Regions from separate parts of the Homo sapiens genome. Here all the other regions are linked to region 2. The links are contacts of gene promoters, found by promoter capture Hi-C in blood cells and fetal thymus (Javierre and others, 2016). All regions are on one chromosome and are shown on one strand. Each heading gives the region's core, a stretch centred on a gene start or on the middle of the fragment in contact. The rest is flanking DNA. Distances are from core to core; before and after follow the strand shown. Region 1 overlaps HADH (hydroxyacyl-CoA dehydrogenase). Region 2 holds the start of GAR1 (GAR1 ribonucleoprotein). Region 3 has its middle 12 kb from the start of RPL34. Region 4 overlaps HADH (hydroxyacyl-CoA dehydrogenase). Region 5 overlaps RPL34-DT (RPL34 divergent transcript). Region 6 has its middle 2.0 kb from the start of OSTC. Region 7 holds the start of CYP2U1 (cytochrome P450 family 2 subfamily U member 1).

Region 1 (3,100 bases), core at 350-2,849, 1.8 Mb before region 2:
TGACTTTCCCCTTTAGACAAAGTACAGACTCTTGAATCCTTTGCCATCCCCACCAACCCTCTTGTCTTCTTTATACTAGGGTCTGGGGCCATTGCTAATAATCACTGTGCTTGTGTTGTCGATTTTCTTTTAGAACATTTAAGAGAAAAGTAGTTTTTTTGGTACCTGAGTGTCCGAATGAAAAAAACAAAAGATGGTTCAAGACAAGTGTTTCCAGGAACATGTAAGAGTACTTTTTTTTTTTTTTTGAGACGGAGTCTCGCTCTGTCGCCCAGGCTGGAGTGCAGTGGCATGATCTTAAGCTCACTGAAACCTCTGCCCCCCAGGTTCAAGCAATTCTCCTGCCTCAGCCTCCCTAGTGGCTGGGATTACAGGCATGCGCTACCATGCCCAGCTAATTTTTGTATTTTTAGTAGAGACGGGGCATGTTGGCCAGGCTCGTCTCGAACTCCTGACTTCAAGTGATCCACCTGCCTCGGCCTCCTAAAGTGCTGGTATTACAAGTGTGAGCCACCGTGCCCAGCCCAGAGTACATTTTGTTTGTGGATGAAAAGACTGTCCTATGTGTTTAGTATTCTCTGAAGACAGTGTGAGACTTTTAGGAACAAAGTCAGCCTGACCCTGTTGGGAGAGGCAGAAGCAGAGGTCTGCTGGGGAGAGATCATTTCCTCCTTCTGATAAAATGTGCCAGAGTGCCCTGGACTGGTGATACCTGGAACTGGGCTCTGATGTCACTTTATTTTACCAAATGTGCCCAAGTTTCCCCTTTTTGCAGGTGAATGGCCCTTCAAACATTCTACAAAAAGGGGTATTACGATTGTAATACTAATCTTTAAAATAACACTTTCTTTTCTTAACGGGAGTGTGGAGCCACAGCTGGCACAGCCTTGGGCCCAGGCTGTCCCTGCTCTGTTTTTGTGGTTCCAGGTGCTTGTGGTGCAGGTTGTGTGGTTGAACAGTGCTTGTGTTGGCCACACACATTGTTATTGGAAGAGGATCTTTTTTTCATTACCTTCTGTAATGGGGAATAGTTTATATTATTTTCCCCAATGACCAAAAGCAAGAAACTTTGAAAACTGAAATTTTAAGACCTTAAAACAATGTCATTTTTTTTTTAAAAAGGAAACCCTGGCATTTAAATGGCCTACCTTGGAAGCTGTTGGAGAAGGTGGATGTGCTCATACCTGGAAAGAGAAGGCTCTCCGCTGCCTACCCACACTGGTCTCGCCTTTTACCTCTTTTCCCTCCTTTCCAAATAACTGGTTTCTTCTCCCTTCTCTTCCTCCTCTCCTCCCACCCGCCCCTGATTTGAGCAGATTATAGTATTGCCTGTTAGGTAAGCAGAAACCCCCAAGCCTGGTCAGTAAGGGATCCTTTCCTTTCCTGCCCTGTTACAGTCCATCTTGGTTGGAATCAGCACCAGGCCTGTTTGTATGTTTTTATCCGCAAGGTGGCGCTGCAGGAAAGCCTGGAAGTCAACCTGTTTAAAGCTTTTCCTCTCATGCTTTTGGCACGCCACTTTACTGTGGCCTTAAAGAACTAAATTTGGTTTAAGTCAGTATGGATTTTTTTTAATGAATAAGTTAATGTCTTATATATGCATATGCCTATATCCTCTTTTCCCCATATCTACCCATGTAACCTTAAAATTTTTTTGAACCATGTTGGTGTTCTTGTTTTCATTTTAATTCCCATTCAATTGAAAAATAAAGCTTTTCACTTCAGGGAAAATATCTTAATTCACGTTTATTATCATATGTTTCTGATTGAGGATTTATGTGTTCATTTAGAATTTTGTTGCTTTTAGGTGTCTTTCTTTCATTATTTTTTGATCACTGAGTTTCGTTTGTGACTGGGGTTGGTTAAGTAGCTTGATCAATTAGCCACCTCTTGTTATCTCACATACCTTGGAAGTTAACTAATACAAGTAGGTAGGGGAAATTTTGTTCTGGAAAATCAAGGAAGGATTGGTGAAGGTTAAATACCTCTTCGGAACAGGAAATTCCAATTTTATTTCAAATTTAAAAATTTTTAAAAAGCTGAAGTCACTTGATTTCAGCCTCTTATATGAAGATGTGTCTTCTCCCTCATTCCCCCAATGGGTCAGGACAACAGATGTGGCAGTAAGCAGTCACCTTGTGCATTGCATCCAAGAGTCATGCTGTTTTGAAAGAAGAGATTCACTCTGATACTCCCACTATATTTTCTCTTCACAGACATACAATCTTTGCCAGCAACACTTCCTCCTTGCAGATTACAAGCATAGCTAATGCCACCACCAGACAAGACCGATTCGCTGGCCTCCATTTCTTCAACCCAGTGCCTGTCATGAAACTTGTGGAGGTCAGTGGGTGTCAGCTTGTGTGTGTCTGCCCGCTCTGCCAGCTCTCTCAGTCCTGCTTTTCTGTGTTACACCAGCCCTGCCACCAGTTGCCTAGGATGGGTTTTAACCTGAGGGTAGAAGGTTGTCCCTGAGCCTCATATCTAGGAGGGCTTCTATGCTTTGTTTCTTCACAGCCCTGTGTCTTGCTTAGTGATATCCAGAAAGGCTGTTAACTTTGTGGAATGTCATTTACTTATTTGTGCCAGAGCTGATGGGCAGTGCTGAGAGGCATCAGAATGGGAAGGCAGCACTAGAAACCGTGGGCTGGATGGGACCACACAGAGGGCAGCTACATGTGTTCATATTATCTCGTCGAGGTCAGCTTGCCCATGCTGTAAATGCAGTTCTCATTAGATACACTATACTAGCTTGTCCACAGTTCCTGGGGTTAATTCTGACCCCATGTAATGGTGCCTTAGCGTTGTCCCCAGATGAGGTACATCTCCTGTGCATTGTGATCAGAGCTATTAAAACCAGCTCCCATTGGGTGCGGCGGCTCATGCCTGTAATCCTAGAACTTTTGGAGGTGGAAGTTAGTGGATTGCTTGAGACCCAGGGGTTCAAGAACAGCCTAGGCAACATGGCAAGACCCCATTTCTACAAAAAATAAAAAATCAGCCAGGGGTTTTGGTGCACGCATGTAGTCTCCAGTACTTGGAAGGCTGAAGTGGGAGGATTGATTGAGCCTGGGAGGTTGAGGCTGCAGTGAGCTGTGAT
Region 2 (3,055 bases), core at 375-2,874:
TTTCAGTTGAAAATGCAATCTGTGTGTGACAATCTCAAGTTCAATTCAGAATTGAGCAAATACACAGCAAAAGATAAGCAAAGGTTTCATACTAAATAGGTAATTTTCATTTTTTGTTTCAAAAATAATACACTTATATAGGCCCATAAAAAGACCAACATTCGTTAAAATCAAATTGCAGCATTTACTAAACTAAAAGAAAAAGAACAAGTAAAGTTTCCTCTCTCACTTATTTTGTTTTTTGTTTGTTTTGAGACCAAGCCTTGCTCTGTCGTCCAGGCTGGAGTGCAGTGGCGTGATCTCGGCTCACGGCAACCTCCGCCTCCCGGGTTCAAGCGATTCTCCTGCCTCAGCCTCCCGAGTAGCTGCGATTACAGGCGTGTGCCACCATGCCCGGCTGATTTTTGTATTTTTAGTAGAGAAGGGGTTTCACCGTATTGGCCAGGCTGGTCTCGAACTCCTGATCTCAAGTGATCCATCTGCCTTGGCCTCCCAAAGTGCTGGGATTACAGGCGTGAGCCACCACGCCCCGCCTACAAAGGTATTTTAAAATCCCATTTACAATAACCCTCTGAATTAGATAGGTACCAAGTTCCACCCTCTTCTAAACACGAGATCAAATATCAAGGTAAGGTCTCAGAGGGTTTGGGTGTAAAAGACTCCAACCAAATTTAATAAATGGGAAGTCATTACCTTTATTTGTGAGAGAAGCTTTGGAGAATGTGGGGGAAGCTGATGTCAAATATAAAGGGCTTAAAGAGAGAAGAGGGAGAGGAGCTTTCAGCACAGTCCAGTTCACAGCCCGTCGGTGCTCAAAACATACTTGAATACCTGGTACAAAAGATAAAAATGATGGTTTGGTTTTCTATAAGACAGCATAGTTTCTTTAAAATTACACACACACATGCATTGCTTTTCTTCCTTTAATTAGTTGAGACCATAGGACAAAAGAAGAGGCATAGTTGAGCGCGTAATGGTGCGAAAATCAAAAGGTTGGGAAGAAACAAGAAACTCAGATAAACGCTTCCGTCGGCTGTGACAGGTTCTGAGGCGCCCAGATCTACTGGACATAGCGCGGCTCAGAAGCCTCAGAGACCTGTCCGCACAGTTCCTGAAGTTAGCAACAAATTAGTGAGTGCTGTTGCGGGCCATTTTGCAGCCAGAGAAGCAAATGCGCAAATGCGCCCAGCCAGTCAGCACGGACTTCAAGAACCAACTTCATTCCTTGCAAGGTGCTTTAGTTCTGGCCGTTAGGGCGGCAACCAAACAGAAACCTGCCCCGCCTCTGGGAGAGAAGGCGGATCCCTAACGCCAGCTATCTCCAAGAGCAACATTGCCGCAGCACTTCCGGGACGTCGTGCTGCAAAGGACGCCGCTGTTATACGTCACTTCCACGGCTCAGCGTCAGGCAAGTTGGCCTCTCTGTTGTAAATTAGTGGTTAAGGTTATCTATTATTGCCACTTTTCCAGCGCTAAAGGCTGTTTTGGAACCAGTGTTGCTTGTTCCGCGGGTGATTGGCTTTTTTTTTTGGCAAACCAGTTATTCAAGTTTCTGGTCTTTAAAAAACTCTGTGGCGGTACGGTAACCGAGGAGGTTCCAGCGCGGCGGAAGTACCCCGCGGGTGGGTGTGTGCGCAAGGCCAGGGCCAGAGGGGCACGTGGCGCCGGTGAGTGGCCGTAGAAGCCGGAGGATTTGAAAATGCTGGACGTGGAACCCAACTGCCGGAGGGAGGGAGGAAGGAAGGGGATGCGGTGCGAAGACCTTGCTGTCTGTAGGGGGAGGAGATACTAATCATGGGGCGGCAAGGGTGGTGTGTGGTCGGTCGGCGCTCACGAGACCATGGAGAAGTAAACTCTTCACCCATCAGGTTGGTGGTCACTGGCTGTCTGACCGTGGGTGAGGTGACAGGGCTGCTTTTGTCTCCTTTATGGTGTTCTCACCGCAGCTCCGAGGGGTTGGAGTATACTCAGAGGCTACAGTGATCAGAAGACATAGGTCGTTTTTTTTTCATCAGGGAGGAGAGAGAATGTCTTTTCGAGGCGGAGGTCGTGGAGGCTTTAATCGAGGTGGTGGAGGTGGCGGCTTCAACCGAGGTGGCAGCAGCAACCACTTCCGAGGTGGAGGCGGCGGTGGAGGCGGCGGCAATTTCAGAGGCGGCGGCAGGGGAGGATTTGGACGAGGGGGTGGCCGCGGAGGCTTTAACAAAGGCCAAGACCAAGGACCTCCAGAACGTGTAGTCTGTATGCAGTCTTCAGTATTTAGCTTATTTGAAGGAGTAGGTGTGGGTTGGGGGTTTGTGTTGTTAGGCAGCAAGTTTGGGATACACAAGCCTGTGTGGAGAATGTAGCATGTAAGGGTGGAGTGGGGAGATCAAGAAAGCTGAGGGATACTTAGAATGCATCTTGGAGGTGGAACTTGAGGGTTGACAGGAAGATATTAAATAGGTAATCGTGAGTACTTATGCCTAATTCCCCGATTTTACAGATGAGAAAACTATGATTTAGAGTTAAGTTTTTTTGCTGGGGTCATAAGGTTAGTGATAAGTGATCAATTAGTGATATAGCTGAAATACAGGCTGGGTGCGGTGGCTCACGCCTGTAATCCCAACACTTTGGGAAGCTAAGACGGGAGGATCTTTTGAAGCCGGGAGTTAGAGACCAGCCTGGATAATAAAGCAGGAGACCCTGTCTGTACAGAAAAGAAAGAAATACAAAGCCAAGTATTCTGACTCCAAAGCCCATGCTTTCTGTTACTACTCAAAAGTAGATAAGTGAGAAAACAATTTGCTTGAGAGGGAAACTGCCAGAGAGGAAATCTAGAAAAACACCTATTTAGGGTAGTTTTAGAGTAATTAACAATGAGATGGGAATGGAAGTCACAGAAAGTGAAACTTACTACATTAAAGAGGAGAGAGGGTGAGTAGTGTCTAACTAAGAATGGCTTGGATGAGTATGCAGGATGGTTTGAAAGGAGCAGTTTCTAGAATAAAAGGTCCCAGCCCACAAGCTGTTGTACCAGTCCATACATGAGACCTTGAGAGCCTGAATCAGGATG
Region 3 (3,408 bases), core at 103-2,602, 1.2 Mb before region 2:
GAGGCTGAGGCAGAAGAATGGCGTGAACCTGGGAGGTGGAGCTTGCAGTGAGCCGAGATTGCGCCACTGCACTCCAGCCTGGGCTACAGAGCGAGACTCCGTCTCAAAAAAAAAAAAGAAAAGAAGTTAACATTGTCTTTATGAATCTCATTTCTATCTCAGCTAGTTCATGCTACTGTAACTACCACGGACTGAGTGGCTTGAACAACATTTATTTCTCACTGTTCTGGAAGCTAAGTCCAAGATCAAGGCACTGGCAGATTCCATGTCTCTTCCTGTTTGCAGATGGCCATCTCCTTGCTGTATCCACATGTGGTGGAGAGATCACCTGTCTCATGTCTTTTCTTAGAAGGGCACTTATCTCGTCATCAGGGCTCCATCCTCAAAATCTAATAATATATACCTCCCCAAAGCCTCACCATCCCATTGGAAGTTAGTACTCCAACATATAAATTTTGAGGGGGATGCAAACATTCAGTCCCTAACATTTTCTAAATTAAAGGATAAGATCCGCAATAATTCTGGATGAAAAGATGCTTTTGGGTTTCCAAAATATTAGCTATTCAATAATTTTTAATAAATCTTAAATGTTTCTGGTTAACCTGAAGGATTATGTAAGTATTTTTGCCAAACATTTACATTCTTTTATAATTGCTTTAGCTTTCATTCATTTACTCGATAAATATTTATTAGAAACTACCATGTACCAGAAACTATGATGCTGGATAATTGTTAATACAGTAGTCAACAAAGCAGATGAGACTCTTCCCTTGGCCTCATGGCACACAGGAGAGACAATGTTAAATGGGGAACATATAAATACATTTGTTGTTGTACACACTGGGATTAGACTCACAAAAAGAAAGTCCACAGTGCTGTGAAACGATGTGGAAAGGGAACCTCATGGGGGAGTTAAGGGAGGCTTTTTCTGAGAAAGTGATGTTTAAGCCCACAACAAAGATAAGTAGGTGTTGTCTGGGTGACAAAAAGGGAGAATACTCTGGACATAGAAACCAACATGTGCAAATGCCGTAAGTCAAGAAATCGTTTTTATGAAAAACAAAATCAATTCAGGCAATCCAATTCACTCTCAATATTTAAAGGCCAATAAACCTGAAAAGTGTGAACTAATTGTTAATCACTAAGAAGGAACATCCCTGTCAGCACATAGATTTACTATACCTGTGTGGCCCCAGGGCTACTTTTCATCCTAAGGGACACCAGCAAAAGAAAAGCTTTCCTAAACTGTTTTAGTTAGGAGCAAATAAATCCTCCTCTACATTAGGGGATATTTAAATTATGCAATCCCCTAGATAATTTAGGCACCAACCACCTACCATTAAGGAGGAAAAGGATCAAATTTACTGACCAAATTCCCTTGATATTCATTCAGCTTCTATATTCCTTGGCCTGTGCAAATAGCCTGAAGACTTTACTCTCTCAACTCTCTCTCATTCTAGGGTTGAAAATAAGCTTACAGCTTGACTTGCCTAAAGAACAAATGGTCTTGAAGAAAATTCACGTGTTTATTGCATCTTAGTGTAAGTCATAAAAGATGTCACAGGCCATAGGGTCTCTCTTTCACAACTACTCAATTCTGCCATTGTAGAGTGTCAGTAGCCATAGACGATACATAAACAAATGGTCATGGCTATGTTCCAATAAAATTTTATTTACAAAAACTGATGTCAGGTCAGATTTGGTCTCTTAGCTCATAGTTTGGGACCCTGCTCTAGACAACTCTGCTTCTAGCCAAAGCTGCCATCTGATTGCAATTGCATGAGAGACCTTAAGCAAGACCAGTAGAAAACTGCCTTGTTAAGTCTAATCAGCCCAATGGATGGTGGGAAAAAATAAAATGGCTGCTTTTTAAATTCCATTCAATTTTGAGGTGATTTGTTACATAGCAATATACCACTAAGACAATGGTACAGTGCAATGATCTTTAAATATTTCTTTTTACTTGAGTACCCCTTAACATTTTGGAAAGTTATGTAGACTCTGGCACATTTTCAGATTGTCATCTAAAACTTTTCATTCAAAATGTAAATCCTTGCAAAGGATATCATTTCCAACAGAGTGAACATTTTAATAATTTTAAAGAGAACTGTTTTATCAATTTTTAAGCATATCAAAATCTCCATAGCCATTTTTTTGAGTTTTTGTATATGTATTTATTTATTTATTTTTAACTTTTAAGTTCAGTGGTATATGTGCAGATTTGTTATATAGGTAAACTTATGTCATGGGAGTTTGTTGTATAGATTATTTTATCACGCAGGTATTAAGCCTAGTACCCATTAGTTATTTTTCCTGGTCCTCTCCCTCCTCCCACCCTCTACCCTGCAATAGGCCCCAGTGTGTGTTTCCCTCTATGTGTCCATGTGTCCTCATCATTTAGCTCCCACTTTATAAGTGAGAACATGCAGAATTTGGTTTTCCGTTCCTGCATTAGTTTGCTAAGGATAATGGCCTCCAGCTCCATCCATGTTCCTGCAAAGGACATGATATTGTTCTTTTTTATGGTATAGTAGCCATTTTCAAAAAGACAGGAACAAGCTTTTCTAACATTTGGAAGTTTTATATTCGTTCTTTTTTCTTCCATTTTGTTTTGTTTTTTTAGAGACAGGGTCTTGCTCTATTGACTGGGCTGGAGTTTAATGGTACCATCCTGGCTCACTGCAACATCAAACTTTTGGGGTCAAGCAATCCTCTGCCTCAGCCTTCCAAGCAGCTGGGACTACAGGCATGTACCACCACACGTGGCTAATTTGTAAAATGGTTTTTGTTTTAAAAAAGAAAAAAAAGATGGAGTCTTGCTACGTTGCTTAGGCTGGTCTCAAACTCCTGGCCTCAAAGCGATTCTCCTGCCTCGGCCTCCCAAAGCAATGGAATTATAGATGTGAGCCACTGTGTCACCCCTTTTTCTTTTTGACATATATTACCATTCCATTTCCTCCATAGAATTTTAAGCTAATATATTTTTATGTTGAAATATTTTCCTGATTGGTAATTCCCACAATTCTCTCTCTTTTTTTTCTTTTTTTTCTTTTTTTGAGACAAGAGTCTCACTCTGTTGCCCAGGCTGGAATGCAATGGCGCAATCACAATCTCAGCTCACTGCAACCTCCACCTCCTGGGTTCAAGTGATTCTCCTGCCTCACCCTCCCAAGTAGTTGGGATTACAGGCACCCACCACCACGGTCAGCTAATTTTTGTATTTTTAGTAGATACGGGGTTTCGCCTTGTTGGTCAGGCTGGTCTCGAACTCCTGACCTCAGGTGATCCACCCGCCTTGGCCTCCCAAATTGCTGGGATTACAGACATGAGCCACCGCGCCCGGCCCTACAATTCTATTTTTAAGAGAGAACAAGCAAAAGAGAGAGTCATGGAGTCTTGCCACTTGTT
Region 4 (3,088 bases), core at 45-2,544, 1.8 Mb before region 2:
CATATGTCAAGCACTTACACAGTGTCTGGCATGTAATAAGAGTTCACAGAAAGTTAGCTGCCTTTATAATAATTATCTTCGGCCCGGCATGGTGGCTCAAGCCTGTAATCCCAGCACTTTGGGAGGCTGAGGGGGGCAGATCATCTGAGGTCAGGAGTTCAAGACCAGCCTGGCCAATATGGTGAAACCCTGTCTCTACTAAAAATACAAAAAAATTAGCCAGCATGGTGGCATGTGCCTGTGGTCCCACCTACTTGGAAGGCTGTGGCAGAATAGTCTCTTGAACCTGAGAGGTGGAGGTTGCAGTGAGCCGAGATCGCACCACTGCACTGTAGCCTGGGCAACAGAGCGAGACTCCGTCTCAAAAAGATAAATAAAAAGAATAATCATCATCTTCATTGCAGTTGTCCTGTCCTTTTGCCCTTTTCCCCTCATATCCACTCCCATCCTGATCACAGCTGCTGAGGTAGGCCTGTAAGGTTTAGATGGAGAATATTGGTCATGATTCCCTGTTTCATCTTGCTTAATCTTGAATGCATATACCCGCTGATGCTGCAGCGGGTATGTTTTTTCAGGGACCTCTGAAAGGAGGGAGAACACTTTTTAGTTACCCCCCATTTTATTGTTAAACTTTAGTAAAGCCATAAAAGTACAATCACAAACTAGTATTGAGGTTATGTTACTGATTTTCATTAGCTTAATTTTCTTGAACTTTCTGACGTGGTTTTAATGTTAGTCAAGGTGCAGTTCTGCTTATAATTTTAATAGTTTTGTCATTTTAAACACGTCAGTTTGTGCTCAGAAGGATGAAAAAATATTTAAATAGATTTTGTGGGAGCCTGATGCATTTCTCAAGCAATTAAGCAATTTAAGACAAGTTCAGTGCTTAATTACATTTGATCAGAGCACAGGCCATTTGTACATGTGTATTTTCCGAGAGTATCTACTTTGCCTGTCATTTCTTTTGTTTGTTTTAAATTAAAAAAACAAAAAATCCCTTAGACTGCAGGTTAATATTTGAAGTTAACTTGTTTCATGTGTTTGCTTATTACACACTTCTGACTTGGTTTTGATTGCTAATTTATCTTCACTGGATACTTAGGCCAATAAAGAAGCTTATAGGATTAAATGAGCCTTGAGTGGGGGACAGGTTGTTTTTTTGCTTTATAAAGAGGAAAACAAGAAAGGAAGAAAGCTGGTAGCTGTGTGCATTTCTCCAGTATTGAATCCTTTCTAGGCTTTGCTTCATACATTGGGTTTTTTCATATGAGGAGCCCAGAGAGAATGCATAGCTTTCATTAGATTACTTGTGAGGAGCCAGTGGGCTCCCTGGGAACGGGGCACTTCAGATGTCCCCCTTGAGACACTTTACATGCTCTCCGGGTGCAACCTTCTTTTTAGTGCACTACTCTTCTTTGAGGAAGTGAGAAAGTTTGCATCTTAAAGGGGGTTGGGGATAGGTTCTTCTCTCCCAAAGCTTGCTTTTTTTTTTTCCTCCTTTTTAAAAAGCAGAAAGTGCATATTTTTTCTAGAGAGAGCTTCTTTGGCTATTAAAAACAAAGTAAGGGCAGGGAGAGCCTGCTACGTTGCAGGGATTTTGTGTGACTCTACCATGCTTGATAAGGATTCAGGTAGACCTGAAAGCTTCTCCCCAGCCACTGGATTTGTTCTCTCATCTCTTCTTCTTGCCCCCAAATCTGCATTTTCTGATGCTGAAAAAGAGAATGATCAGAGTTGTTTCATATTTTTTTAGCTTTATTCTCTTCTACTGTGAGTACAGCTCTGTTGAGCTGTACAGTACAGTACTGCTTTGCTTGCAAAGCAGTACAGATGCCTAGGAGAAGTTTCAGGATCACAGGAGACCAGCAGTTACCTGGCTGTAAGCTCTCCTTTTGACTGTTCCTTATGGAGGGAATATTTGTACTCCCAGTTGTTACCTTCCTGCTGAAGGACATGAGATGTGTCTGTTTGTTATGAAGTTTTCCCCCTACTTCCCGAGTTGTTGCTTATCTTTGTTGGGCTGTTCTCTGCTCTTGGTTGAGGTACTGGGATGTAGAACCACCCTCTATTAGCATATTAGTTATTGGACTCTGGGTGAGGTTGGAGATACTGTCATTCCTAGAGGGTAGAAGAGGTAGGGCTCACAGGCAACAGAAAATAATGCTATGGGATATGTTTGGACATTTTTTAGAGCAGAAATGGCACTTCAGTCAGTCAGGTTTTGGCATTTTCCTGCCATGTTCTGCCTCCAGCTTTAATCACTTGCCCCTTGCTTGAGTTTCTTCTTTCTTCCCCTCTCCCTTCTCTCTTATCTGTGGTAGGCACACACACCTCACTCTCTAGTTCTCCTGGGACCACAGGAAGATAATGTGGATGTTCTCTGTGGCTCCCCCTGTTATATTCATGATGTTATTATTTCTGGTAGTGGTATTCTAATCTCAAAAGTACAGGCTATGAGGTCCCTGCCAGGGTTTAGATGCTAGCCTTCCTATCCTGCCTTTAGGAACCTTGGGCAAATCACTTAACTCCTCTCTGCCTCTTTACTTACCTGGGAATAATGAGACTCACCTGACAGCTGTGAAAGTTAAATGAACTAATATACAAGCTCCTAGAATAGCATTAGTGTGTTTGATAGTAACTGTCTGATAAATATTAGCTGCTTTCACATAGACCCATCAGACCTGATCTAGTGAGGATTTCTCTTAGATTGTCTTCACTGTCGGAAGAGTTTTGATATAGGGAGTTCCAGCAATTCTAAAGATGTTAAGACTTATTTATGTGGGTTGTTGAGAAAGATAGTGTACCATTTACTGGTTTTTGTAGAGCTAAAACCACTCTACAAAATATGACACTTTATTCTGTTCAAAGAATTTTGATTTATTTAATTTCATGTGACCATTACAATAATCACCCCTGCAGAGATGGTTCCTGGGGTCAATGGTCAGAGGCAGAGCTGGGGTTAGAACTTGAGTTCTCTTCTGTTCTGCTGCCTGTAAATCCCCAAGCCTGAATTCAGTTCTGCCTGCACCTCTGGCAAGTGCTGTATTGTGGGGAGAAGTGTGGCATCCATGGCAGGGGATCCTCTGTG
Region 5 (3,217 bases), core at 614-3,113, 1.2 Mb before region 2:
AGATAGCTGAACAAAGAGGGTGGCTAATGAGGGAGCCCGGAAAGGGAGAAGACAGAAATGACACAGGGCTTTTAGCCTGGATGGCGATGGCATATTTCTGCCTCACTCATTTTCCTAATAGGTTAATCCTCTTCCCTTATTCATTAAAGTCATTGTTTTCTGTTAATACATTTTTTCTACTTGGTTCTTCTATTCATTAGCAAGCACTGCTTCTTTCTGACTGTGCTCATAGGTCATAAAGCAAATGAGAAATTTTCTTGAGCCTCGTTCTTAAGGGATGCAGATTGCAACTACTGCTGTGCTATACGCTGGAGGAAAGAAATCACATAAAGCGATTAGAAAGGAGAAAAAAAATAAGTGAAACTACCTTCTCATGTACTTCAGGGTTTTCCTCCCTTCTGAGTTTAATATGAATCAAACAGGTGTGCATTCAAAGCATGCAAGTGTGTCTTCATTGGCTTTTAATCATCAGCTTGAAGAAAATTCAGATCTCTCAGAAAGAGAGAAAAGTAAACAGCTGAGCACTGTGACTCATTTACACTTCAAATATACTTTGAATTGGTTATTCCTCAATTAATCAAATAGCTGGTGTATCCCTAAAGTAGTATAAAGTGACGCACTGTGTGAAATCAATTTTTCTTTCCAAAATCATTAAATCCAGTAGCCTGTGACTACATCCCTGCTAATTCTGGTACCAGTCCTTTCCTCCTCCATTAACTTTGGCACGCCTAACAGCCTGTCAAGAATAATTTCCCAGGACGTAAATAATTCAGAAATTAAAAATTAATAAATAATAACAGAGAACTACTGGGAAATAGGCTGGGTCAATTAGTGCGCTCTGCATTCTGTTTCTTCACAGCAGGGGGAGGCAGCCACATTCGTTACTTGAATCTTCCTTTCGATTCTGCAGTCTGATTTACAGCTCTTCATTACTGGATCCAGTCAGACGCAATTACCTCCATCACTATCTCAGTTCCTAACTTCAAAGAAACGAACGTTTTCTTGTCTGCTTTTTTTCTCCTTGAAGCAGGCTCAGCTTGACATCCCTGGAATTTCTACCACGCAGACTAATTAATAAGTCTTCGACTTATCATATTCACTTCTCTTCTTTGATGTGCTACCTTAGTCAATCATCCCATTTAATTAGAATTTCAATGATAACTTTACTTATCTTGTGGCTAGATGTAAATTAAAATAATGGGATTTTAATTCTCTTTCGTATGGGGTTATGACATTTTGGAAGAAAAAGTTTCAACACAAACATGATATTATGTACTTTTTACTTTTCATGTGGGGGTGGGGGAGCATTTTGCAAAATTATTTTCTTCTTGCTACAAAAGAGTATTGCTGTTGAGCAAGCAATAATGAAAATGCACTGGATTTTTCTATAGCATCTTTTCACCAAGCTTTCATAGGAAAACAATTGTCTTCATTTGCATAAATAATTGGAACAAGACACAGGACGTGGAACAAGACACAAAGGCAGTGGCTACGTTTTGGGAAAAAAAAAAAAAAAAGGATCTCCAGAAAGTCAAGGAGTTGACACACTAACCCTTTTAACTCTTTTGCCCTTTTCTGTCAATCCATGCTATGTTTCCATTTTGATAAATTCTATAGTGGTTTTTCTAGAGTTCCCCAAAATAACACAAGGAAATAAAAATGTTCTCCTAAGAACACACCAAACATTAGTAAGGTATAAGGTGTAACAGTGATGTGCAAAACTGGTTATAAGGAAGAGCAGAAGGCAGCATTTCATTTCTAGAAAACAATACTAAGACCATTTATCTATTGAGCAGCCATGGTGTGCCAGCCTCAGCTACGTGCTTTATCTCCGTTAATTCCCGCAGCACACCCACAATATGGGATTCCCACTTCCATGTTACAGATAAAGAGACAGTCTCAGTGAGGTTAACTTGCTTTCTGAAGTTCACAAAGGTAGCACGTGAGGAGAAAGAAATCAAAAGACAAGGCACGAGAGAAACAATTTAAGCCTTTAAGCATAGCATTTAAAACTTTCCATCGTCTGGCTTCAAACTGCTTGCTAAACTCACTCTCTTCCTACTTTACTACATTAACTCATCCAGAATAAAACTCCAGGCATGAGTTTAGTATCTACTGTATTATACCTTATTAATAATATATGCCTTATTAATACATTTTTGATGGTTGCTTTAATGCTTATAGACATTGGCAGAAATTCAGTCATTGTGGATGTAAATAGGGGGCATGTTTGTATATAAAACACCATGGTGACCTCAATCATTATAAATACATTGTTTTTAAATAGCAAGTACAAACAGAAAATCATATACTATATATACAAGCTTAAAAGAAGAAAATAAGCTTTGCTCAGATTTTCTTATTTTTTCCCAGGAATAAAATTATTAGCTGTTTCATTGGTTGCTTTTAAAAAAGTTACTAACAATAGGAACATCAATGGGAATTGCACATAATTATTCTGCCCTTAATCTCAATCATTCCCTTCCTCCACCCTCAGTAACAATGTCCAGTAAGACAAGAAGCAGAGGTTACAATGACCAATAGAAATTTATTTCATTAGTAAGATGTGAAACCACTGTATTTATACCATTTTGAATCTAACCTTTCGGGGATTTAGTACAGTTGTTCTTTAACAATAGAACTTCGCTCATTTGCTACTTAAGACATGATTATTTAAATTAAAGTTAATTGGTTTCCTTACTCCCCTTTAGGGCTTTAGGCTCAGAACATTTCTATTAGAAAAATCTAATTTGTTTCAAACTCCTATTTCTAAAATTTACAGTGGTTATTTAGAGTGGCTCTGATATTTTAACTCTTTGTAGCAAAACTTGTACAATGTGTTTGTGTTTTAAGCTAAGTGTTATTACCAAAAAGTCAAAAAGTTAAATTTTTTTTAAACTTTATAAAGTAAAAAAGTAACAGTAAGCTTATTAAGGTTAGTCTATTATTGAAGAAAAAACTTTTTATAAATTTAGTGTATATAAAACATATATATAGTGTGTATATAGAGTATATATATTTATCTTTTTATATATAAATATATATATAGTGTATACAAAGTGTATAGTGTTTATAAAGTCTACCATAGTGTATAGTAATGTCCTAGGCCTTCCCATTCACTCACCACTCACTCACTGACTCACCCAGAGCAACTTCCAGTCCTGCAAGCTCCCTTTATAGTCAGTGCCCTATACAGGTGTACCATTATCTTTTATAT
Region 6 (3,316 bases), core at 192-2,691, 1.2 Mb before region 2:
CGACAAAACCACAAGTGGAATAGCAGCAGCAGTTGGAGTCACCACATGATTAAATTTACAATAATCCACTGTTGTTCTCCAAGGTCCATCTTTCTTTTGCAAGGGCCAAGTTAATTGAGCGAAATGTGGCAGAAATCACTACTCAGCATCTTTCAAGTCTTTGATAGCACATCAGCCACTGAAGTCACTTTAGATTTATTATTTCTGTAGGTAAAAGCAGTTCTACTGGTTACACTTAGACTTTCCTGCCATAAAAGCCCTCATAATATGGGTCAGGAAACCAATATGGTGATTTTTCCATTTGCTGAGTACATTTATCCCAATTGTACATTCTAGAACTCAGTGATCTCACTACCTCTGGAAGGAGAACTAAAATTAGAATAGTGATAATGGGAAACTCGTTCCATATGTGTCTCTAATATTTGAATAAATTAATTATTTTACATTGGGCAGGTTCCTATGTTTTACTTGCATAATTTTATTTCTTATTTTCATTATTTATTTGTTTATTCATTTATTTTTAGAGATGGAGTTTCTCTCTTGTTGCCCAGGCTGGAGTGCAATGGCACGATCTCGGCTCACTGCAACGTCCGCCACTCGGGTTCAAGCCATTCTCCTGCCTCAGCCTTGCAAGTAGCTGGGATTAGAGGCATACACCACCATGCCCAGCTAATTTTGTATTTTTTAGTAAAGATGGGGTTTCATCATGTTAGTCAGGCTGGGTTCGAACTGCTGACCTCAGGTGAGGAGGCCTCCCAAAGTGCTGGGATTACAGGCATGAGCCACCGTGCCCAGCCATTACTTGCATATAATTTTAAAAACAACCTTCAAAATGTAAAATAACTACAACAATAACACCAAACCCCACAATATTGCATTAGAAAGAGTTTTTATTTAGATCATGAGACATAATAGTGCTTCGTACTCATGCTTATACAGAACCTAGCGCGAAAGAACATAATTCAAGACACTGTCAACCAAACTGCAAAATGTCTTCATAAATAAAAATCCAGGTTAATATTAGTATTATTATCCTACAAAAAACAAAGCTACTAATTTCCTCTCCAACACATATTTAAATAAACAGAAATCAACAATATTTGTAGCCTTTGTAATTCTAGTTTGTTTAGAATTTAGTTAAAAACTTATTTGTGGAGCTCTCCCTCTCTTTTGGCTGGCAGAACCATTTCTGACTTCAAGGCTTTTTATTAAAATATTCTACAATGAACACAGAAAGCTTGGTAGATACCATCTTTACACTTTTTTCTTCTTTGAATATATATTTGCTTGTGCACAGTAAGAATTATTAACATTTGCTTTTATATGTAGCTTAAGATGACAGCTCTACTGCATATTATATTGTAAACTGTGTTTCTCTCAACATTTTTCCTTCTTCATCTATAAATAGAAAACCACTGAATGATTGATTATATGTTTATTTAAGGGCATGCTCTAATGCCCACTGCTATATTCATTATTTCTTTGGTTTTCAGTTACAGAGTTTATGTTATGTTTAAATAGAACATTTTTCTGTAGGAATTGTGGGTTAGGACATGGATGATAACAGATATGCATATCTTACTCATGAAAGGTCTCTTTTATACGTGGCTTATAGAATATTACAAACTCATGTTGAAAAATATTTCAAAGCTTAAGAGGTTAAAAAATAATAATGAATTGGTTCCTGGAGCAAACTTACTTTTTGGAAAGTGATAGTAATAATTTAACATATAGATGAATGCAGTGTGTTCTGACTTGGCAGTTTTATTATTTATGAAATTAATTTTTCATTTAAAAATTATATATTAATAATTTATATGTTTTCCACAATGTAGGTAGAAATTATGTGTCCCTAGTATACACAGGAAGAAGGATAAGTATATAAACGTATACCATTTTAAACGTCTTAAATCTATTTACTTCTACAGCAATTGCCTTTTAGGTCTCATCCAGTCACAGACTATACTACACTTTTTGAGTTTATTTCCCTTCCCAGGAGCCACTTTTGTCATATGTAAAGCAGTTATACTAGTATTTACCTAACAGAATTGTCATGAAGAGTATATAAGCACAAATGTAAATCACTTAACATAGTACCTGCCAAGCAGTGGTTAATTAATGTTAGATTCCTTTTTAAGCTATAAAGGAAATTTAAAAACCTTTAATCCCTATGTTTTTCCAAAGCAAAATGTTTTATTTTTATTTTTTTCTTCATACCAAAGCAAAATATTTTAATTGTTCCAAAGTGTTCCTTACTTATAAAACTGTGGGAATTTCAGAAACATTCTGCTTTACAGTGCCCAGAGAAACTTCCTACATATAAACGCTGGTTTTGGTGTAAATGCATTCATTATTGGTGTTATCATTGGCCTTTACATAACCTAAGATTCGTGTGGCTCCGTTAAGACATAGGCAATATGACTCTGGGAGAGACTCTCACTAATGAACAGTAAGGGCAGCAAGCCTCAACTGTACTTAGAATTGGATACTACAATGTTTTGATAGTATTTTCATTACCGTCTTCAAGCAATTTCTTAACAATTGAGTTGTTAGCTAATTAGAAGTGCAGAACCAATACATGGCATCCTGTAAAAATAACCACGGGCTTAGTAACAAGCAAATAAAAAAATATAAAAACATTGGCTCTATAATGTGTCAATATGCTCTGGACTTATGTAATCAGTGACTCTTAACTCTTGCTCCAAAAGGAAGTTAACATTTGTAGAGTCTTAAAAGATTATATAAAAAAGAAAAGCAAAACAGAAAACAAAAAATCTTTTAGACCTTCTAGTCCATCCCTAATGACTAATTCTCCATCATATATTTTCATCTATTTGGATTGTAAATGTTGCCCAGACCAGAGATGGCGGTGGTTCACACTAGGGTGTCAGTGGTGGAATGGTGAGGGGCAGATGAATTGGAGATATTTTGGTAGTACAGCCAAAGAGACCTACTAATATTTTGGATGCAGAAGGTTAGTAAGGAGAGAAATCCAGACGACTTTAAGATTTTTGGCCAGAGGGATTTTACCTTTTAGCGACATACAGATGACCAAGGGAAGAGCAAAGTTGAGAGGATGAGTTATTCAAAATAGTATTATGGTCACGCCAAGCTATCAGCATTAAGGCATCCCTGTAGAGATGTCCTGTTGACATTTGTGATCCAGGCTGGATGTTTAAAAAAAATTGGTAACATATTACTTTAGCAACTATTATTAATTCTTATTATTACCACGACTACATCGGGAAGTAAAAGCTCAGCAGCCTCCGGCTTTTCCTAACCCTTGAAAAAACCTCTAATATAAAAGGCATTTATA
Region 7 (3,343 bases), core at 600-3,099, 1.9 Mb before region 2:
GTGTCCTTATCTCCTCTTCAGACACCAGTCATATTGGTAAGAGCCCATCCACAGGACTCCATTTTAGCTTAATTACCTCTTTAAAGGCCCTTTCTCCAAATACAGTCTTATTCTGAGGCACTGGGGGTTAGGACTTCAACATATAGTGGTGAGGAGAGGCTGAATTCAGCCCAGATTTCCTATCTGCCCCGCACAGCTATTAACCTAGTGAAAATGAGAGATTTAGGAAAACACTACACGTGCAGTTACATCCTGTACAATATAAAAGGGTGGCTGTTGGAGTTGTTAAATTAGTCACAGCTTCAACTATTTTAAAATCATTTATGAATTTAAATTGCTTGTATGGGATGATGTATATAGTGGCTACTGTTTCAGAGAGCAAAGCCCTAGAATCAGATGACATCCAGAATGTCATGTTGAAGATCGTATCTGCAAACAAGTAGTTTAAATTTTTAAAAACTTCTCTTAATTCAAAAATTCAAAAAAAATGAGAAAAGTAATCTCACAAGTAGTGGTTAATTATAGAAGATGAGAGGTGTGGAGGTTTTTTTTTTTTGTTTGGGGTGCATAAGCTTAAAATAACATGAAAAGCATGTCAAAAAGAATATGAGAACAGAGTGGACTTGAAATTTAACATATCCTACTGGCATCACTTGTTTATAGAAAAATAAAATGGATCATGTATTTATTTGAGGACTCACTATGCTTTCTTTGATCACATTTTTATAGGTACAGCGTGGTGTTCAAACTTTTAATGTATGGAGAAAAATGAAACGGCTAGAAAAATGGCCCAGTACAGACAATTCTATGCTCAATCCAACTTGAACAGAAACTACAGGATTTGGCCTAAACAAGACTGAAAGGGAAGCCCTTATCAGGAAAGCCATTATCTGAGAAGATAAAATAAAGTAATACTTTGTTTTTAAAGTATTATACAATTCATATCTAATATTTCAACCTCAGCCTTTCAAGTGTTGTCTAACACCAATAATAATATTGCCACCCCTCCCTCAACCGGTTATCTTCTTTTCATATTTCTAGCTACTTAAATCCACCAAGCAAATTCTGGTTTCGCTATTTCTGGATTTAAGTACATTTTCTAATGCACCCAGGCCACACGCAGGAATGGACACAGCTTTCGCTCTCCGCATAAGTTTTCTAGCCCAGGGCAAGCTCTCAGAACGTGACTCCTCGTGCCTCGCTGCCCGCCCCTCGCTCCCCCCACTCCCGCCATCATCCCTTCCGCAGAGTTGGCTGCCAAGCCGACACCCACAGATTCTGCATTCCACGGCTTCCCAGCATCCTGCTGTCTCTGCGTGGAGGAAAGGGTGCTGCGAATCCCAGTTTAGATAAGGAACCCCGTCTTTTCACTACTACACCGAAGCATGCAGGAATAGGGCGTTGACCCCATTCTCCCAGCTCAGGGCACAGGTGCTAAGGCCGACCCATCTCACGGGCCTGTTCACCAGTTTCCCACACTCAGTACAGATCCTAACACGGTTTATGCACTTCATAACCATGCGTTTGTGTTTGTCAACTGACAAACGAGTGATAATGACAAACGAATGACACAAGGGAAACCAACAGCCAATCAGAGCGCAAGGTTGTGTTGCCAGCATCCCAGTTTCAGGGACAGTCACCGCCAAGCCCGACCCTGCAAAGGGTCGTAACCGGACTTCGGGGCAAACTTCAGGTCCCCCGCCTGCTAGCCCGCCAACCCCCTCCGCCAGGCAGCCGGCGCGCCTCCAGGTTCCGCCCAGGCGTCGCTGAGTGGCGGCGGCGGGGAGAATGCGCGCGGCGCAGCCAATCCGGGGGCGTTCCTACACCCCCTGCCCGCCCCCGACCTTCCAGAGCAGAGCAGGACACTGGCGCCGCGGGTCAGGCAGCTGCGTGCGCGTCTCCTCCAGGCAGCAAGGGGAACCCGAGGCCGCCGGCGCCCGGACCATGTCGTCTCCGGGGCCGTCGCAGCCGCCGGCCGAGGACCCGCCCTGGCCCGCGCGCCTCCTGCGTGCGCCTCTGGGGCTGCTGCGGCTGGACCCCAGCGGGGGCGCGCTGCTGCTATGCGGCCTCGTAGCGCTGCTGGGCTGGAGCTGGCTGCGGAGGCGCCGGGCGCGGGGCATCCCGCCCGGGCCCACGCCCTGGCCTCTGGTGGGCAACTTCGGTCACGTGCTGCTGCCTCCCTTCCTCCGGCGGCGGAGCTGGCTGAGCAGCAGGACCAGGGCCGCAGGGATTGATCCCTCGGTCATAGGCCCGCAGGTGCTCCTGGCTCACCTAGCCCGCGTGTACGGCAGCATCTTCAGCTTCTTTATCGGCCACTACCTGGTGGTGGTCCTCAGCGACTTCCACAGCGTGCGCGAGGCGCTGGTGCAGCAGGCCGAGGTCTTCAGCGACCGCCCGCGGGTGCCGCTCATCTCCATCGTGACCAAGGAGAAGGGTGAGCGGGAGGTCGTGGGCTGTGGGTACGCGGATGCCGCGGATGAGTCTCCAGGTGCGTGGGGGCTGCAGTTCCTGTGCCCCTTCCGGCCGCCCGCGCCCCCAGGCTGCCTCACACCTGCATCCTGAACTAACAGGTGATGGTGGTGGCGGCGCTTCTCCTTTCTGATGCCTTTAAGATCCCATCAAGTAGTGACGGACGCGTGACTTGCTCATACTCCAAGATCATAAGTAGAAAAGTCATCCGGAGATTGAGGGAGAGTAATAGGGATGGCGGAAGGACAAGGTGGCAAGCCAGGTTCCATCTTTCCAAAAGTAGCCTTCCCTTCCACCAGCTGTGACCTCGGAGAGAAACTTTGGCCCCCATGTTAGAAAGAGGGAAGGATATTCTTTTTACCTTGTGGGTTTCGAATGTAAGAATTTAAGAAGATAATTTCCAATAAGATAAAAAGTCCAGAAAACACAGAAGAAGCCTATTACCAAATCTCCGGCTTTGGTTCATAGCCTCTGATTCCTGCGTATGGGAGTCTAAATTGGACATTTTTGGGGGTTGGAAAACGTGTTATCTGCTGCAATAAAATGTCCAATCTAACCTGTCTCTACCGTCCCCCTTTGTCTTACTGGCTGGCTTAGGTCTCTGACTTCTTTTCTGAGTCACTCCTACGCATCAGTCAGGTGTTAAATGCCTTTTCCTTGGGGAAGCCTTTTCTCACAGCCTCTGCAAGTAGGGTAGCCTCCCTTGTTAGAACCAGGTCCCTTGCCCAAGCACTTTTCCTTCACTACACTTTTCAAAACTGACGCTACATAACTTTATGACCTTGGGCCTGGATGTCAGTCTTCACCACTGTTCTGACATCTAGGAGGACAGAGTCATTGCTGTCTGAAACATAGTAGGAGTTCAAGTATCTAT

The links. Contacts are between HindIII fragments. The CHiCAGO score rates a contact against its expected background, and 5 or more counts as called.
Region 1: a contact is called between a fragment that was not itself captured here and the fragment with the promoter of GAR1 in region 2, in 5 of 17 cell types (fetal thymus, total B cells, total CD8 T cells and 2 more). The highest score is 7.7, in fetal thymus.
Region 3: a fragment that was not itself captured here is called in contact with the fragment with the promoter of GAR1 in region 2 in 7 of 17 cell types (total B cells, monocytes, naive CD8 T cells and 4 more); the score reaches 11.7 in total B cells.
Region 4: a contact is called between a fragment that was not itself captured here and the fragment with the promoter of GAR1 in region 2, in 1 of 17 cell types (total CD8 T cells). The highest score is 5.8, in total CD8 T cells.
Region 5: a contact is called between a fragment that was not itself captured here and the fragment with the promoter of GAR1 in region 2, in 5 of 17 cell types (total CD8 T cells, naive B cells, naive CD4 T cells and 2 more). The highest score is 7.1, in total CD8 T cells.
Region 6: a fragment that was not itself captured here is called in contact with the fragment with the promoter of GAR1 in region 2 in 10 of 17 cell types (total B cells, total CD8 T cells, naive CD4 T cells and 7 more); the score reaches 12.0 in total B cells.
Region 7: the fragment with the promoter of CYP2U1 here is called in contact with the fragment with the promoter of GAR1 in region 2 in 9 of 17 cell types (total B cells, non-activated CD4 T cells, naive CD8 T cells and 6 more); the score reaches 11.0 in total B cells.

What each region holds. Positions count from the first base shown.
Region 1 is chr4:108,017,324-108,020,423 of GRCh38, forward strand. HADH (hydroxyacyl-CoA dehydrogenase) reads left to right here. Exons shown (of 8, transcript NM_005327.7): 4 at 2,217-2,343. Among named protein-coding and RNA genes, the nearest start is that of HADH, 29 kb to the left of the region's middle. The HindIII fragment of the contact is 222 bases long and covers 1,489-1,710 here.
Region 2 is chr4:109,814,138-109,817,192 of GRCh38, forward strand. It overlaps GAR1 (GAR1 ribonucleoprotein), which reads left to right and starts at 1,625. Exons shown (of 7, transcript NM_018983.4): 1 at 1,625-1,667; 2 at 2,016-2,241. The coding sequence starts at 2,028. GAR1-DT (GAR1 divergent transcript) reads right to left here and starts at 1,245. Exons shown (of 2, transcript NR_186620.1): 1 at 694-1,245. RefSeq lists enhancers at 1,001-1,100, 1,271-1,670, 1,681-1,730, 2,081-2,130, 2,301-2,370. The HindIII fragment of the contact is 3,017 bases long and covers 710-3,055 here.
Region 3 is chr4:108,630,732-108,634,139 of GRCh38, forward strand. No RefSeq gene overlaps it. Among named protein-coding and RNA genes, the nearest start is that of RPL34, 12 kb to the left of the region's middle. The HindIII fragment of the contact is 238 bases long and covers 1,234-1,471 here.
Region 4 is chr4:107,992,753-107,995,840 of GRCh38, forward strand. The region is part of intron 1 of HADH (hydroxyacyl-CoA dehydrogenase); the gene reads left to right. Among named protein-coding and RNA genes, the nearest start is that of HADH, 4.4 kb to the left of the region's middle. The HindIII fragment of the contact is 362 bases long and covers 1,114-1,475 here.
Region 5 is chr4:108,610,658-108,613,874 of GRCh38, forward strand. All of the region lies in intron 1 of RPL34-DT (RPL34 divergent transcript), which reads right to left. Among named protein-coding and RNA genes, the nearest start is that of RPL34-DT, 8.2 kb to the right of the region's middle. RefSeq lists an enhancer at 95-1,652. The HindIII fragment of the contact is 918 bases long and covers 1,405-2,322 here.
Region 6 is chr4:108,646,907-108,650,222 of GRCh38, forward strand. No RefSeq gene overlaps it. Among named protein-coding and RNA genes, the nearest start is that of OSTC, 2.0 kb to the right of the region's middle. The HindIII fragment of the contact is 413 bases long and covers 1,236-1,648 here.
Region 7 is chr4:107,929,700-107,933,042 of GRCh38, forward strand. CYP2U1 (cytochrome P450 family 2 subfamily U member 1) reads left to right here and starts at 1,850. Exons shown (of 5, transcript NM_183075.3): 1 at 1,850-2,434. The coding sequence starts at 1,945. CYP2U1-AS1 (CYP2U1 and SGMS2 antisense RNA 1) reads right to left here and starts at 2,420. Exons shown (of 7, transcript NR_125929.1): 1 at 2,272-2,420. The region is part of intron 1 of LOC107986298 (a long non-coding RNA gene); the gene reads right to left. LOC124900751 (a long non-coding RNA gene) reads right to left here and starts at 1,886. Exons shown (of 2, transcript XR_007058221.1): 1 at 1,274-1,886; 2 at 1-204. RefSeq lists enhancers at 1,220-1,727, 2,388-2,457, 2,518-2,587 and a silencer at 1,588-2,177. The HindIII fragment of the contact is 6,450 bases long and covers 571-3,343 here.